3 separate regions of the Homo sapiens genome follow, and regions 1 and 2 are each linked to region 3. Evidence: promoter capture Hi-C in 16 types of primary human blood cells and fetal thymus (Javierre and others, 2016). All regions are on one chromosome and are shown on one strand. Each heading gives the region's core, a stretch centred on a gene start or on the middle of the fragment in contact. The rest is flanking DNA. Distances are from core to core; before and after follow the strand shown.

Region 1 (3,508 bases), core at 547-3,046, 360 kb before region 3:
AGTCTTATCAGAGAAAAACAAGTACTGAAAAAACAAACACAATAAACCTACTTAAAGTAGGGCAAATAACAAAATTTGGGCATATTTATAGTTTTAAAGCTGAAGACTATGGGAACAATATATATGTACTTCATGAAATTATAAACATGTTTTTAAAGCTTGGTTTTTAAAAAAGGCGTTTTGATCAAACAAGGCCACCTGAGTGACATCTTCAATGATGGTAAGCCCACCATTTTAAAGGAATAACATCTTTATTTAAAAGCCTAATTATTAATATAAAAAGGAAAAGAGTTTATTTTAACAAAATGTTTTAGTAAGATTGCAATGGGACAGCCCTTTGATGAAAAATCTAAGGAGGGTAAAGCCAATGTAACTGAATTAGAACAAGAGTTCCAATTTTGAGCTACCATCCACCAAATAATTTCCCTTTTGCTTTGCATATTACACAGTGAAAATAAACAGTTATATTAAGAGCACTTCAGTCCCACAAGGTAGGATTTAAGCTTTGTGAATAGGTGTAAATGGCCCTGTAACAATATGATGCCTGCAAAAATACATTCAACTGAAAATTAATGTCTGTTCTTTAACTAGTAAGGAAACGGGAAGCTAAGTGGTCCCACTTAAACAATAAAACAAAACAAAACAAAAACCACTGTTTATCCTTTCTGGAAAGACTACCAAAGCAAAGAACATCCAATAATATTATAAATTTAAAACTGCATACTTTTACTCATCTTTACAAGTAGGAAAGATGCATACAAACTACTCATGGGCTTTATAAATAAAGACACTAAGCAGAAATAATATTTGGGTTATTTCTCTGTTCGTAAATACACAGAAATAAAACAATTAAAAAACACTAAAGTGCAGACCTATAGGCCAATACAGGCATGATAAAGAGGTGCAGCCAAATTTGCATCTACATTTACACTTACATACCCAGAAAATGATTCTTGCTTTAAAAAAAAAAAATTGTGCAATTTAAAAACTAGTCAGTTTTGTTTGTGCTGTAATACAATTAGAACTTGTCTCTGCCCACTAGTGAAGTGACTGCTAGACCTTAGATAGCACACTAGGCTCTTGACAATCACGTATCTCATTAGAATCATACAACATTGATTCCACCTCCAGAAAATGTTAGGGTCCTCTTGTTGTAGAATGAAGAGCCACTGGTATTTGGTTGATTGCCTTTAACCAGAGAAGATTTCAGTTCCATTTCACAAGCTACAATAGCTGCATTCAATTCCACTTGAGCTCGATGAACTACATAAAACATGAGGCCTATACTTATAATAATCTGTGAATAAAAATAAAACATTACAGTTATCAATATTTTATACAAAAAAAAGAAATAAATCCAATAAATATTTGGCTTAGAAATGCTTCAAACAGGGTGCTTCTCAAAGATGGTAGGTAAAGGGTTATACATTTTTAAATAGTTTACACACAGTTATTGTTTATTCTTTCCTTTGCTGCTTCTCCTGGTAGTGGAGGACCAAAGTCTACAGGTAACCATGACATGGTATTAGGAAAACACACATTCCTTTTGGTTCACTTGATACAAGCCAAACCTGTCTCTTTGTACCAAAAAGCTTTCTTCAAGGAATAAAAAATGTCTACAATAGAGGTAACAGCTGGCTAAACTTTGTTGGTATAATTAATGTAGTATTATACCTTTGCATGACTATAAATGTCCATAGGTATTTCTAAGCCCACTTAGTGAGAAGCACTACTATTTGCAATGAACTACCTGGTGAAGACAAAATTAAAAGTATTACAGACCACTTAAAAAAATGAAATGCCAATAAACTTCCAAAGAATTAACAAGAGATTGTGAACAAGTAATTGCCTGTACTTAGGAAAAAACAAAATCAGAGGAAAACATGATGATTATTTAAAAATGTTAGTCAAAGGGATACTAGAAAAATCATCACACTGATCAAATTGAAAGTCAGGTTTCTAGTCTTAGCTTAGCTATTCACTAGTGATGTGTGATTTAGGGAAGCTTCAGTTTCTCATTGTCCTATAGGAAGCTGTGGTCCCTCTGTACTTTTTTTTTCTTTCTTTTTTTTTTTTTTTTTTTGAGATGGAGTCTCGCTCTGTCGCCCAGGCTGCAGTGCAGTGGCACAATCTCGGCTCACTGCAACTTATGCCTCCCGGGTTCAAGTGATTCTCCTGCCTCAGCCTCCTGAGTAGCTGGGATTACATGCATGCGCCCCACGCCTGGCTAATTTTTGTATTTTTAGTAGAGACGGGATTTTACCATGTTGGCCAGGCTGGTCTCAAACTCCTGACCTCATGATCTGCCTGCCTCAGCCTCCCAAAGTGCTGGGATTACAGGCATGAGCCACAGTGCCCGGCCAACTTTAGCATTCTATGTACAGCTCCTCAGAATGTCTAAGCAGTGTACATTTTCTAAATGAGTTTTATTCCAAAGTTCATTTGTAAATCAGTTCTTTAGGATTTGGAGCAAACACAGCAGGTGTTATTTAATGTCCCAGCAAGTTTACAAAGGCTGCTGTAACCAAAAGTGATACGGAAATATAATACAATTTCAATGAAATCTACCCATAATTATAACATAAGCTTTAAAGGGAAAGTATTCTAAATCCAAGTGCTGAGGGTGGTTGGGGGAGGAGATAACAGAAGCAGAGCATACTGGGGGTATGGTAAGTGTGAGAGGGGAGGAACTTGGAACTTGCACAAGGGGGTGCCATTAAATGAGTACCCATCACTCAGTAAAATCGTAAATAAGTTAGGCATCTTAAAGCTGGGTCTTTAAATTCTGTAACTGTTTTCTGTTACTTCTCTTAAAAGAAACAAGATATATTTACCGAAAACTCCTAAGTTTGCTATGTATCAACAAATGGAAACACCATGTAAAGAGATGAAAAAAATATGGGGGCGGGGGCGGGTGCTTTGTGAATTAGATGCTACCTTCTGTTTAAGACATGCTGAATTCGAGGTGCCTCTTAGATATCCAAAAAAGTTCATGGATGTCAGTGAAGGGGTCTGAAGCTATGGAAAGAGGGCTGAGCTAAAGACAAGTGCTGGGGAGTAGGATGAGGGCAGGCGGAGGGTCTTGACCCAAATACACATATTAGCAACCATCAGAGTAACTGGATTTGCTGTAAAAAAGTTTTCAGAGTAGGACTAGAAAACTTAAGCTAGGATCTTCAAAAACACAGATATAAGGGGTGAAAGGAAGAAGTTAAGCATAAGCTAGGCAAGTGGAAAAAAAAAGTTAAGACAGTGGTATCAAAGAAACTAAGGAAAGAGTGTTTTAATAATGAAGGCACTGTCAGGAGTCTTAGACTACTAACAGGTCAAGCTAGATGAGAAATGGAAAGTACATCTCATTTAGACAAGCTTACTGACAGCCCTAAGAAGAGCAGTTTGAGGGAAGGAAGTGGCAGGGCCACAGATAGCAAGGGTGAAATGGTTACATCTTTAAGTGGGACTTTCCCAGCTGCACTTCTGATCCCAGGGCCTGACGATTTGTACTGTC
Region 2 (3,420 bases), core at 880-3,379, 340 kb before region 3:
CTGGAATCAGGATGTGTCTGGGAAATCCAGCTCTTCTTGGACCAACACTAGTGCCTGGATAAGTTAATGACTCTAAACATTTACTAACTGTGTAATCTTGAGCAAGTTATTTCACCACTGTGCCTCAACTGCTTCAGCTATAAGATGAGGATCAGGGCTGAAATGAACAGTAAATAAGTTATGTGTGCATGATTAAACAGTGCCCAGGAATTAGTTAAGTACAATGTAGGTATTTGTTAAATTTTTTTAAAAAGTAGCTCAACTTCACTGTCCTTATTTTGGAAGGCAGAGGATGGTGAGAAAGAAATAGTAAATAATGAGCAAACTATATATTTTATCACAGCTTTGCAGCAGGTATTATTAAACACATCCCACAACAGAAAGTATAGCTCAAAAGAGTAACTATAACTACTTCAAGATGACACTGTAAATGTTGGAACCAATCTCATTTCAAGTTTCTACCATGCATGGGAGAAGGGGAAAAAATGGTTCAGAGGAGATAAGCAAGGGAAAGCACCTTTCCTTCTTCCATATATTATCCTTTACAATCAGCTCCTGCTTCTAAAATGTGAATACAACTACCTCCACCACTACAAACAATAATGACACTTAACAATTACTGGGAAGTGACTATGAGCCAGACAAAATACTTAATGCCTTCACTGTATCAGCTTTTTTAAGCCTCATAACTACTTTATTTTACAGATGAGGAAATGGAGAAGGCCAGATGGCACAGACTAATTCAGGATCATCTATTTCCAAAGCCTGGGCCTCACATGACCACTACACCTAACTTCTTTGAGGTACGCCCAGATGAATTTCTCTAATTATGGGCACACAAAAAAAATGAGTTTTAACTGGAATTTTTTTCTTTAAAAAAAAAAGGATGATTTCAAAGATAGGGAGGGATGTGGAAAACACAAGAAATATGCCTAGAAAAGGGGGCAGCTATGGTCAGCAGGAGGGGTATGAGGTGGAGAGGATACATGAGGAGGCAGAATGGAGTTCTAGAAGGCAGAAAGTCAAGTCAGACTAAAACCAACATCAGCCTTAACTAAGCTTTCTTTTCTTTCACATATCTTGGCTGAATTCAGTAAACTGTTTTTGTTGAAAGGACTACTTCTGTAAGCAGGCAGTTCAGAACAATAGGTATAAACAGGACATAACAGACCATATCCAGGGGCTTCACAGTCCACCCTGCTATGGCTGAGTCAAAATTTTACAGTAAGATGCACCATATCAGCTGATCCTGGGTTCAAACCCTAGCTCAGCCACTTGGTAGGTGGGTGACTGAAGAAGTTCCTGGATGGTTGAGCCTCTGTTTCTTCTCAGTGAAATGGTGACAATAATACCTATTGCAAGAGGCCATTTTTCTTTTTTTTCCCTTCTTTTTTATTGACCACACAATGCTAAATTGAGATTTGTCCCTTGTCAAGCTCAGTTTCAACTACATGATTACCTTAAATTATTACCAAGCACAAAATACAACCTCTTAGTTATATACTTAATATGTAAGAGACAAAATCAAAAGAAAAGCCTACCTTATTGTCAGTCGATAAATACATAATGAGCCCTTACTATTTACCCATGACTACACCAGGCATTAAATATATATTCAAGAAATAAAGAGGTGGTTGGTTGAGACACTGCCATCAGACCATGGTTCAAAGTTTGACTCTACCATTAATTTAGTACCTTGGTGACCTTGGGTCATAACAACAGAAACGACAAAAGCCAACACGTGTTTGTTAAGCCAGGCTCTGCTGCATGTATTCATCTCATGTAATCTTCTCAATAATCCTATGGAAGTAGGTATCATTACTTTCCTCATTTTACAAATAAGAAACTGAAGCCCAGAGAGAATAAACAACTTGCCCAAGGTCACTAGATTCTAAGCAGACAGCAGGATTTCACAACACCAGCCCTGTGCTCCCAACTAGTAGACACTAGTCTATAATATGTGCATAATTAACTTCTGCAGGGCTGGTTTAAGGATCAGAAATATGTGGAAAGAGCCGAGGACAGTAGTTGGCACACGGTAGATGGACAAGAAAAGGCCCAAGGATACATGCTATATTGAAACACAAACTAACAGAATCAATCTATTTAGGTTCCTTAGCCCAACCTTCTTTCAAAGTCCTGGGACAGTTTATTTATTATTACCCAAGACTGGGTCAAAGTTCAAGTTTATATTTCATACTATAGGAGGGTATGAAAAAGAAATTTAAGACTAAGACTATACCAAACTACTGCTAACACTAAACTTTATCTCTACAGAAAACCCCTTATCTGTTTCCACTGCCTCTACCAAATACCATTCCATAGTCATTGCTGCTGTTGCTTGGAATCAAGAGGTTTGCAAAAGGCATTTAAAAGAAAAGAAAAAAGAGAAAGGTTTTAATTTCATCACAAAGAGGCAGATTGGTTAGTATTATTCCTAATTCAAAACAAAATGAGAAAGTTTCCAGAAACTAACAATAATTTACGTTTTGAAACAAAATAATGCATCAGAATCACTTAAAATACATCAATTCCTATGGTTTTGAATGCAATTATCTCTTTATTTCAGTAAGTTTTCTTTAAGTCTAGCTGAAGGGTTAAGTTCCTGGGAATCTACATAAACTCTTGGTAGTTTAGAATCACTGAATTTGGGGAACATGGTAATCTACTTTTTTAAGTCCTTCACTTTCGAAAAGAGAAAAGTGAAGCCAGACAGGGTCAGTAACTTGATCCAAAGTCACAAAGTTTGTAAAGACCAGATTCCTTTCTTCCAATAAGATGATCTCTTCACTAGCAGTGTTTCTATCCTAAATCAGTTGCATGGAGATGCACACTAGCTATAGAAACCTGAGTAAGCAAAACATATGAATACAAGGACAGAAAAGAGTCTATAATGGTGCAGATACAGAAGAAAAATATATGCTAACTGAGCAAAAGATTATCTGTTCTGTTTTATTCACCACCCCGTGATTTCGAAATGAAGTTCCTCCAAAGAAAGAAAGATAAACAGTAGGATTTTCTTCTTTACATCACATTAAAGCACAATTACTTGAAGAAGAAAAAGCCCATTTCAAATTTAGCAAACTCCAAAATCTGGAGTCTGCAACTAGCTCCTCCACTGTTTACTGAAACACTTCCTTTGGTCCATGTCGCTAAAAACTTGAATCAAAACCCTGGATGTATTTATGTAAGCAAGAGAGAAAGCTTTCCTCCCTAAATGTTGCCAAAGCTGCTACAAAAGATGACAAGTATTAAAGATGGGCATTTCCATTCATGTCCCTGCATGCCTATTGTTAAGAGGGCTTTTCATTTTTAATTACATTCCCATCCCTAAAAGAAACATTAGTTTTTTATCTAACAAACTCTCTTTCGAGGCTCCGCGTTAGGTATGTTTTATGTGTAGGACAGACTTCCCAGGCT
Region 3 (3,261 bases), core at 268-2,767:
TAAGAAACCTGAGGCTCAGAAAAATAAGAGACATGCCCAAGTCCACATAGCTACTAAGTGCTAGATATTAGGATTTGACTACAAAGTTCACACCTTTATATCAAAACTTGCCTATTTGTTACATAAAAGAAAGATATCTGACTGTCCATTTATTACATGTGGACACTGCGTGTATAGATTTAAAAATTAATGTGAAAAGTAACATTTATTTATAAGGCCATGCAGAATAAATTGGTATATGCTAATAATATCCATTTCTTCAATTTACCATTTTTCTTAGAATACTAAATAAATTAGGGAGTACTGTGCTTTCCTCACGCTACAGACATGGTATACTGCCATACTAACCATAGATCACAGCATATGAAATATACTATGCACTGTTTTTAGAAGCTGAGTACTATACTTAAACTCCAATATAAATTCTAGTCTTCTTTGGAAAGTACTGATGCTACCGCTGCCGTTGAGAAATAAGATCATATAAAGTGAAATAATGAAATGAAAAGACCATATTTGAATTTACCTTGTGTATAATTCCCATATGATAACCAGATAAAATTTCATCTCAATTTCCAACTTCAAAACATTACAAAGTTAGGATTCCTTGAAACCCAATACTGCTTGTAAGTAAACTGCTCACACTGACAAAATGATAGATGAAGAGAAACATACAGGAAACATCGGGGAGTAAGAAATAAACCACCTATGACTCAAGTGGTGAAAGACATTTCACGTTCCATATATCTGGTTGCACTATTAAGGAAAAATTAAAACGAAAATATCAAAAAACTAGAAGCTTGGAGAGTTCCAACATATCTTCCATTTCATGCCTTCTCTTTATAACTAATTTAATTTTTTTTTTGGTCTATTTGAGGGATTTCTCAAAACAAAACACAATTTAACATTCGGATGGGCTAAAGCTGTCCAGGTAATAGGTGTCTGTGATTACTTTAGTCATGTAACTGTCCTTTCCGTAGCTTTGACTAAAACACCAGCAATGAAAACCTTGTGCCACCGGGTGGAGGGGGCAAATCGTCTTGAAAGCCTCCCACCGCCTGGCACCAGGTGCTGGGGCAGAGCCAAGGGGAGCTGTGTACTTAGCTCCTTTTTTGGCGATGGCTTTGGTCTCGGCCACTTGCCCCTCCGTCGGGCTCCCCTGGCCCCCTACACTTTCTTTCCCCTCATCCGACGCTCTCGCTCCCATCCCACTCCCATTCAGGGTCCACAGGGTACTGAAGGGGCCCTGAGAGATTTCCCGACCCACCTCAGAGCTTCTCTTCCTCGCCTCAACTTTCCCGGGGTCGGGCCTGGGAGACGGCGCCCACCCGCCTCCTCCACACCACGGGGCCCGACTTCCGTCCCCCAGTGTCGCTCATCCTCCCTAGCCACTTACCGACTCAAAATCCACGGGGATTTCGGGGCAGCAGCGTCGCCGCGCTCAGCCCACACGCGGAGGCCGAGCGCCCTGCTGCCCGTCGGGGAACGGCTCCTGCCGCTGGTCCGCTGGCTGACCGCGGTGGCGGCGGCGGGGGGCGAGGGGCGGGGGGCGAGGGGCGGGGGGCGGGGCGGGAGGCGGCTCCGAGGGGCACGAGGCGGGCCCAGGGCGGGCGCGGGGCGTGGCCTCGGGCGCTGAGCCTCGAGAGCAGCCGCACCCCTGCCGGGGTAGAACCGTTAAAAGGGTGGCGCGCGCTTTCCCGGGCGAGCTGGGCGCGTGGGGTTGGAGCGGCGCCACCCAGAGCCGGTCGTCTAGGGTAGGAGGCCGCGAGTGAGGCGCTGACAGGCTAGCCCTCGACGGGGCGCGCCCGCGTGAACGGCCTTGGGGGCCCCAGACCGTGGCCCTGCTTGTGCGAAGACTGGGAGGCGCCAGGCGGGCCGCCTGCTGGGGGCTTGGCGGCGGGTTCCAGGCAGCGTCTGTGAGGGAGGCCGCCTCTGTGAGGGAGGCCGCCGTCGTGCTGACGACTGAGTCCACCCTACTCCTGTCCCCCGTCAGAGCTGCTGGCAGGCGCTGCTTTCCCCTTGGTGCATTTAGTGGGTGTCGGGATTCGGGTTGGCAGGGAGGAAGATGTTTGAGACCTGGTTTACCTCAGACCAGGGATACAGCGTTTCACACAGACTGCCATCCTGAAAGGAACAAAATGAATTAAGGCAACTCCATCCGAATCATTTCTTTTTAATCTTCACCTTCAATCCTTTTGCTAATTTTTCATTATCTTTGAGTGTCCCCAGAGGGGGACTGTCTGCTTGTACTGAGGGACGTGGAGGTGGCAGTCCCTCACGTCCCCAAGCACCAAAAGGACAGTTGAAAATGCACTGGCAAACACTGAACGGTTTTAAGTGGGGCACTATCAGGATTTACCATTTTGGAAGGTATGAAGTTTCACAAGCACTTCCATGTATAGTCAAGTTATTGGAGCTGTCTCCGTTTAGAAATGGCTTCCAGAAACACTCCTACTATCCACTGAGACAACTCGCCTGGCATCAGAGACCTAGGGTCCAGGGTCAGAGATGGGTCATGATAAAAGGGCATCCCTTGGGGTGAGGCACCAGAAGTCTGCACAGTGGAATCAATATATTCCAACCACCAGATGTAGAAAATCTTAAGTGCAGGATGTGGTTCTCATCCATCTAGTCACAACAGAAGTTTTCTTCTTCAGGAATATACTTAACAATGAAGCATGTATAATTTTATATACATCTTACAATAAAATTATTTTGTGCATATCACTGTATGAAGTCAGTAGAAACTATTGTGACAAAAATGTAAATTGGAAGAATTCCAATTCAGATCAGTATTAGTAATTTATTGAGAGGAAGAGAGAAATTAGACTAGACAGACTCCTTGATTTTTTGATAATTGAGGAAGAAAAATGAACCATATAAACATATCGAAACTTTTCAAAATCTTATTGATAATGACATAAAATTTTGGCATCTACAAGGATAATCTAGAATTCATACCTTTACAACAAGAACTTGACAACAAACAGGTTAATGACTTTTAGCAACTTAAAGGTTAGTCACTGCCTGAGAAAACTTGAAGTGCCCTGAAATCACAGAGTTCACCTAAGAACCTTAAGATGAGTTTCCCCAAATTTAGCAATACTAAAAATTGGCATTATTACCAATAACAAATTGTGAAACTGCAATAACTTTTTTAAGCTTTCAATAACAAAAAATACATGTTGACTAACTTTGCTTTGAAAAGACTACCACATTATTCATTATCACCAGGGAAAGTGCATTACAAAATTACTGTCAAAT

The links. The method cuts DNA at HindIII sites, captures the fragments that hold promoters and counts their contacts. A CHiCAGO score of 5 or more calls a contact.
Region 1: a fragment that was not itself captured here is called in contact with the fragment with the promoter of C8orf88 in region 3 in 4 of 17 cell types (naive B cells, total B cells, total CD8 T cells and 1 more); the score reaches 8.8 in naive B cells.
Region 2: a contact is called between a fragment that was not itself captured here and the fragment with the promoter of C8orf88 in region 3, in 6 of 17 cell types (fetal thymus, megakaryocytes, erythroblasts and 3 more). The highest score is 11.0, in fetal thymus.

Annotation. Positions count from the first base shown.
Region 1 is chr8:90,624,566-90,628,073 of GRCh38, forward strand. TMEM64 (transmembrane protein 64) reads right to left here. Exons shown (of 3, transcript NM_001008495.4): 3 at 1-1,297. The coding sequence ends at 1,106. Among named protein-coding and RNA genes, the nearest start is that of TMEM64, 20 kb to the right of the region's middle. The HindIII fragment of the contact is 413 bases long and covers 1,591-2,003 here.
Region 2 is chr8:90,641,551-90,644,970 of GRCh38, forward strand. All of the region lies in intron 1 of TMEM64 (transmembrane protein 64), which reads right to left. Among named protein-coding and RNA genes, the nearest start is that of TMEM64, 2.8 kb to the right of the region's middle. The HindIII fragment of the contact is 2,145 bases long and covers 1,058-3,202 here.
Region 3 is chr8:90,983,721-90,986,981 of GRCh38, forward strand. It overlaps C8orf88 (chromosome 8 open reading frame 88), which reads right to left and starts at 1,518. Exons shown (of 6, transcript NM_001190972.2): 1 at 1,394-1,518. RefSeq lists a silencer at 1,542-1,701. The HindIII fragment of the contact is 2,363 bases long and covers 795-3,157 here.